Regions from separate parts of the Homo sapiens genome. Here region 1 is linked to region 2. The links are contacts of gene promoters, found by promoter capture Hi-C in human tissues and cell types (Jung and others, 2019). All regions are on one chromosome and are shown on one strand. The core of a region is centred on a gene start or on the middle of the fragment in contact, and the rest is flanking DNA. Distances in the headings are between cores, read along the strand shown.

What was found. The method cuts DNA at HindIII sites, captures the fragments that hold promoters and counts their contacts. A contact is called where the count stands out against the background at its distance.
Region 1: a fragment that was not itself captured here is called in contact with the fragment with the promoter of NUDT14 in region 2 in 1 of the 25 tissues and cell types used here (mesendoderm cells).

What each region holds. Positions count from the first base shown.
Region 1 is chr14:104,759,460-104,762,810 of GRCh38, reverse strand. It overlaps SIVA1 (SIVA1 apoptosis inducing factor), which reads right to left. Exons shown (of 4, transcript NM_006427.4): 4 at 3,157-3,351. The coding sequence ends at 3,326. All of the region lies in intron 1 of LOC107987209 (a long non-coding RNA gene), which reads left to right. Among named protein-coding and RNA genes, the nearest start is that of SIVA1, 8.0 kb to the right of the region's middle. RefSeq lists enhancers at 1,521-2,467, 2,468-3,351. The HindIII fragment of the contact is 8,734 bases long and covers 1-3,351 here.
Region 2 is chr14:105,179,814-105,183,329 of GRCh38, reverse strand. NUDT14 (nudix hydrolase 14) reads left to right here and starts at 2,018. Exons shown (of 5, transcript NM_177533.5): 1 at 2,018-2,201. The coding sequence starts at 2,121. RefSeq lists a silencer at 1,849-2,318. The HindIII fragment of the contact is 11,467 bases long and covers 1-3,516 here.

The sequences.
Region 1 (3,351 bases), core at 852-3,351, 420 kb after region 2:
TATAAGCACCTGCCACCACGCCTGGCTAATTTTTGCATTTTTAGTAGAGACAGGGTTTCACCATGTTGGCCAGGCTGGTCTCAAACTCCTGACCTCTGGTGATCCGCCAGCATCAGCTTCCCAAAGTGTTGAGATTACAGGCGTGAGCCACCACGCCCGGCCTGCCGTTATTTTTTCCAAAAGTTGTCTCCACCCTGCTATGCCCCTCGTCCATGGGTCTCCAGTTAAAGGCACAGTAGGCTGCTTGAAGTGGTCCCACAACTCAGAGGGGCTCTGCCATTTTCCTCATTTTTTTTCTGTTCCCTTTTGGATAGCTTATATTGCAATGGCTTCAAGTCCACTAATTTTTTGCTCTGCAATGTCTATTTTGGTTTTAATCTCATCAGTGTATTTTCCATCTCAGACATTGTATTTTTGTCTCTGGAAATTGTTTGGGCCATTTTTATGTCTTTCATTCCTTTTCTTAACATGCTCCTGTTTTCGTCTATCCTTCTTAATAATGGCCATTCTGATGTCCCTGTCTACTTAGTAGACGGAATTATTCTACCACCTTGTGTCATTTCTGGGTCTGTTTCTACAGACTAACTTTTCTTCTCATTGTGTGGTATAGTTCCTGCTTCTTTGCATGTTTGATTGTTTTTTTTCTTTTTTTGAGACGGAGTCTCACTCTGTCGCCCAGGCTAGAGTGCAGTGGTGAGATTGAGATCTTGGCTTACTTACCTCCACCTCCTGGGTTCAAGTGATTCTCCTGCCTCGGCCTTCCGAGTAGCTGGGATTACAGGCACATGCCACCGTGCCTGGCTTATTTTTGTATTTTTAGAGACGGGGTTTCACCATGTTGGCCAGGCTGTTCTCAAACTCCTAGCCTCAAGTGATCCACCCGCCTTGACCTCCCACAGTGCTTGGATTACAGGCGTGAGCCTCTGACACCCGGCCTCGTTTGTTCTAAAAAAAATAAGTAAATAAATATGTTTTCCCCCTTACTTTTGAGTTTTGTTCTGGATGCTATTAAAGCACTTGCAACCGTTTGGTCTTTTTGAGGCTTGACTTAAAGGTGTTAGGAAGGCACAGAGCAGTCTCTAGTCTAGGGCTAATCTAGCCTGAATATGGCATCAATATCCTTTTGAGTCCTCTACCCTGTTCTCCATGAATGATGTTTCCCCACACTTAGTGCTGGGAATGTGACTTGCTTCCCGCTTTCTTCCAATGGCTCTTTCCCCAGCCTCAGGCAGTTTCCTCACACACAGGAGCCATCAGTCCTCAGCAGGAGCCTTAGGGGAACACTGAGGCAATTTCTACTCCAGTGTTGCAGCTGCCCTGGGCTCTTGGTGTTTGTTCCCTCTCTCAGGCGTTACTATCCTGCAATGGCTGCTGTCCGATGTCTCTCTCTCTATATAGTCATCTATGGGCCAGTTTTTGTTGCTCCACCACAGCTGGAAGACCAACAATATTTACTGCAAACATATATGCCAGGTACTGCTCTAGGCAAAGTCCCACCCCTCACGGAAGCGACACCTCAGTTAGTAGAGTTAGAATAAGTACATTTGCATATTTACTTAAATATGCATTACGTCCAGTGGTAAAGTTAGGTAGGGCGAGAGGGAGCGTGATGGAGGGGTTGTCCTACACATTAGGGCACTGGGATGCTTCTCTGAGCTGAATCCGGGGGAGCCCTATGGATGTCCAGAGGAAGAGCTCCCCAGGCAGAAGGAGCGAGGGGGGTGCAGGGGAAACATGCTGAGCATTCTCAGAACAGCAGGAAGGCCTGGCTGGGGCAGAGCAAGCCTTGGGATAGGGGAGGAGGGGTGAAGCCAGAGGCTGTGGGGCCACAGACTTTTACTTTTAAGGACATGTTTAGCCACTGGAGTGTTGGGACAGGGGAGTGACAGATCTGGCTGCTGTATAAGGACAGACTGCCAGGTGCAGGGCAGAAGCAGGGAGCCTGGAAGGCGCTATGTAGTGACCCTATAGGGGAAGGAGGCAGGCTGGCTGGAGTAGTGTGGTCCTGTGGGGCAGGGATGTGGCCAGAGGATGTGAAGGGAAGAGCCGACAGGCCCGAGGGGGCAGCGACAGGAGTAACAGAAATGAGGGCTTGGGTGGCAGTCTGTTGTGGAAACCTGGAAGGAGTCAGCACGTGGCTGACCGTGGCCACTTGCTCCCGATGCTCGCAGCAGGCGGTCAAGGCCGTCCTCATTGCAGGAAGCCCCCAGCCAGTCCTCTGCAATCCCCTTCTAAGTTGCCCCCTGGAATTTTACCATGCTGACCACCTCTCTGAGCGCCCCCTCTACCCGTGACACGGGAGTGGTATATCCTCGGCCCCAGGGCAGCAAATCCCACTCTGGGCCTGGCTCCAACCCACCACTTGGGCACCACTGACTTTTCTCTAAGAATCAGCATAATTTGCTCTTCTAACAGCTTCCCAGGAACAGCAAAGGCTCTTCTCAACTGTCCCCAGCACATGCTCCCACCCACCCTCTGCCCCAAACAACCTTTACTCTAGTCCAGAGCTTCTCAGAGGGGCTGTGGCTCAACTGCTCACTCATCCCTGGAGGGGCTGGGACCCGCCTCAGTCGACTTGTGTGGGGACCAGCACTCAAGCAGCCTGCCCTCTTCTGTCCTCCAGGCCACCCCGCCTCCTCTCCTGTCAACTCCTCTTCCTTCAAGGCCCCACACAAGCTACACCGACTCCAGAGGGAGCACAGCTGGGCCCATCTCCCCTGCTAGAGCAAAGCTCCTGGAGGGCAGGGGCCTATCAATCACACGGGGCCTGACCATACAGGCACCAAAAAAGTAAAGTGGACACCAAGATGTGATGGATCAGGCGTGCATGACAGTGGCGTCTGGGGATGGGGCGCGAGTATCACCTCTCTCCGTGAAGGTCTAGTACACTGGTTGTGTACCCTGGAGCCAGACCTGGGTCCTTTCTCCCCATTTACCAGCTGGGCGAGCTGGGGAGGAGCGTGCTCTGGGCTGAGCCTTCCCACCTGTAGCAGGGGGCGAGTAAGGGGCCTCACACAATGCACAGTGGGGTCTCTAGGAGCTGGCGGGTAGACAGCAGGTGCAGCAGGCCCCGCCCACTGACTGCTCCTTTGGCCCTCCCAGGTGGAGGGTCACAAACTCCACCCTCAGAAGTGCTGACAGACAAGAGTCCTCTTGTGCAAATATAAAGAGGTTTATTCATTCTGTCATTAGGATACAAAATAGAACATGTAAAAGGCACCCCTCCCGTCGACCCCACAGTTCAGTGTGAACACCGAGCGCTCGTCCAGGGAAGGCTGCCATGCACGGCGTGGCTCCCGGTGAAGGCAGCCGGCTTGAGCCAGCCTCAGGTCTCGAACATGGCACAGCTGG
Region 2 (3,516 bases), core at 769-3,268:
GGCTGAGTTGTGCTACCTTACACGTCTACACTGCATTTTCTGGATCCATTCACCTGGCAACGGATGCTTGGGTTGTTCTTCCCTTTGGCTGCTGTGAGGAAGCATCTGTCTGAGTGTCTGTTTTCAACTCCTTTGGGTGGATACCCAGGAAGACAGTTGCTGGACCACAGGGTAATTCTATGCTTAACTTTTTGAGGAGCCGCCAGGCTGCGTCCCACAGTGGGCTCCTTGCTGATATTTTCAGGCACTCAGCTCTGCAGTCTGCACTGCCAGACACCTGGACCCGAGTGAGTCTGAGGAGCACGGTGCTTTGAGGAGCTGCTGGCTCTCCCAGGGGCTCCTTGATGGGGCTCCTGTTGCCTCTGCCTGTCCCGGGGCTGCTGCTGCTGGAAGCTGAGACTCATCCTCATTTTCCATGCAACCACGGGCAGGAAGGAGCCTGCACGCGACATGCCAGGGTGCGCGCTTACCCTGGGCCCCTCGTGCACCGGAGGAAGAGGCCTGCCTGGCTGTGGGGTAGGGTGGGGCCAGCTTCTGGGCTGGGCGCTCTGGCTTCCGGGACACCAGGCGGAATGGCTAAAGCAGGGAGACACAGGCCCCTGTAGAGCTACTGGGGCGGTGACAGCTGGACTTGGATGCTGGCTTCATGACCGTGCTCCCCAGCGTTCCCACCTGGTGATGTCCCTCCCCTGGAATCTGCCGGAGGCCCAGGACTTTCTGACCCACAGGATGCCCCAGGAATGACACCATATGACATCTGAGGCCAGGTCACACAAAGCCTGGCAGCTTGGCCTGGCCTGGTGAACGTGCTCTGGAGGGAGCCAGCTGCCACGGGAGAATCCAACTACCCCGAGACCACCATGCTGCAGGGAAGCCCACGCCAGCCACATGGGAGGCCAGCCGGCCCTAGCTGTTCCAGCCACCCAACTGAGGGCGGGGGCGAAGAGGCCATCCTGGACGGTCCACCCCGTTTGGCCTTCAGACGACTCCAGCCCCAGCTGCCACCTGATTACAACTGCAGAGAGACCCCAAGACAGGGCTGCCTGGCTGAGCTGGGCAACCCACAGGCCAGGCGATAACGGGGTGCTTTAAGGCACTAAGCTTTGGAGGAGTGTTTTGTTACACGGCAATAGTTAACAGGGAACTGGGAGTCGATTTCAAGCTCACATGGCCAGTCCACCCTGAGCATGTCCCCTGGGCCATAGTTCAGAAAGCAGGTGCAGGTCAGGGTTCAGGGCCAGTGTGGGCCTCAATATTGTTTCCTGCCCCCGTGGAGGCCGTGGTGGCATTTGGAGGGGGTCCTTGGAATCCATGCCCAAGGAAGCACTGAAGCTGCCTGGGACCCTCCCACACCCAGGAAGGGCCGTCATCAAGGTAGGACTTGCAGGGGGAGGGAAGGGCAGCTGGCTTTTGAGTGGAGGAGGGACAGCTCCAGAGACAGCGTGGCAGCTCCCAGCCACCCTCGCCACCAGGAACCTCGAGGGGAGGCCCCCTCGGCCCAAGCTCTGGCCCCTCCAGCTCCCTACTCTCCTCTCCCCTAGCTTCCTTCCAGGGCCCTCTCTCTTTGGTCTCCTGTGATTTTCTTCCTGGGCCCACAGTCCCTCCCTCCCTGGGGGGCTGCCCCGCCCCCGGCCCCGCCCGCGGACCCCTGGAGTAACTTAATCTCGGGGTTGTGGTCCATCCCCAGAGTGGGGAGGCATCCGCTCGGCCCATCGCACCCCAAAGCTGCAGGCCCTTAGCTCCAACCACCGCCAGGCCCTCCCTCCCCCAGCCAAGAGGTCCCGAGTCCCACCCAAGCACTGTACCCCGGCCCGGCTGGCCCCGCCCGGCGGCCGGGGTCGACCCGGCCAGTCCTTCCCCCGGGCGACGCCCACGTGCCTGCGCGGCTTCCCTGGCACCGCGGCGACCAGCGCCCCGAGGCGCGCGGCACCCGACAGGTGGCACCTGCGAGCCCCGCCCACCTCGGCCGCCCCGCCCACCTCGGCCGCCCCGCCCCGCGCGCCCACGGAGCATGCTCAGAGCCGCGGTCACGCGCCCGCCCGAAGGCTCCTGTCGGGACAGGGCGCCGCCCCGTGTCGGCCCCCGCAGAGCTCGCGGCCCCCGCCTGTCCGGGCGCCGCCATGGAGCGCATCGAGGGGGCGTCCGTGGGCCGCTGCGCCGCCTCACCCTACCTGCGGCCGCTCACGCTGCATTACCGCCAGGTGAGCCCGCGCCCCCGCGTCCCCCGCGCCCCCGCCGGCGGCCCGGCCCACGACCCGCGCCCCGCCCACCATCTTCCGCGCTGCCGGCCCCGCCCCGGAGCCCCGCCCCCGCCTCCCGCCGATCTCCCGGGCGGCCGCTTGTCCGCCCGCCGGATCGCGGGTTCCCAGACCCAGTGAGCCCCCAGGCCGGGGAGGGGCCGCGGGAGGGACATCTGAGGGGGCACCACTCATCCTTTCAAGGAAGCATTGCTGGGCCCCATCCTTCCCGCCCGCCCAATCCGACCCTCTTGGCAGTGGAACTCCTTGGTTGCCCTGGGGATCAGGGAAGGCTTCCTGGAAGTGGTGGCTTTCATGCTACCACTTGAAGGAGGAGATAGCTGGGCCGAGGAGGAGGGAGCAAGGAGCGCAGAGGCCGGGCGCAGGGAGGTAGGAGAAGGAGCTGAGTGAGAACTTGAGAGAGCCTCTCAAAGCAGGCTTCCTCCTTGGGGTTTTTTCCAGGGAGGGCACCTCCTTGGAGTCTCCATCTGCCTAAGCTCAGCCTTCCCCACCTCCTAGGGTGTCACCTTCTCCCATGCCAGGCCACGGCACAAGAGGCTGTATTGCCTCACTTAGCACCAGGCACATGGTAGGTTCACAAGGAATATTTTGTTTTGTTTTGTTTTTGAGACAGGGTCTTGCTGTCGCCCAGGCTGGAGTGCAGTGGCATGGTCACAGCTCACTGCAGCCTCAACCTCCTGGGCTCAAGCGATCCTCCTGCCTCAGCCCCCGCCCCAGTAGCTGGGACCACAGGTGCACACCACCACACCTGGCTAATGTTTAAATTTTTTTGTAGAGACGACGTCTCACTGTTGCCCAGGCTGGTCTTGAACTTCTGGCCTCAACCGATCCTCCTGCCTTGGCTTCCCAAAGCATGGGGATTACAGGCATGAGGCATATGTGTTGGGTGAAGGAGCTGCTGCCATCCTTTTCCCACATCCAGTGGATCACTGAGTCCCGGGCCGTCTTCCTCCAAGCCCAGCCCTGTCCAGTTAGGGCCCCACCTTTTGCTTGCATGCCCACCTGCCCCCAGCAGATCTCCCCTCTGCCAGAGCTCCTTCATGCCATTAAGGCAAAGACCACCTTCCTGGTCACAGTCAGTCCAGCCCCCCAGCCTATCAGGTCAGGTGGTCCAGGTCGCAGTGCCTCTCTGCCTGCCTGCCTCCCTCCCTCAGGGGGCATCCTGTCCCCCCCATCACATCCAGGACTCTGCCCCTCGCCATCCTGGAGAAGCCCTCTTGGCCCCCAGCCTGAGAGAGGCCCTGTGCCCCTCACTTTC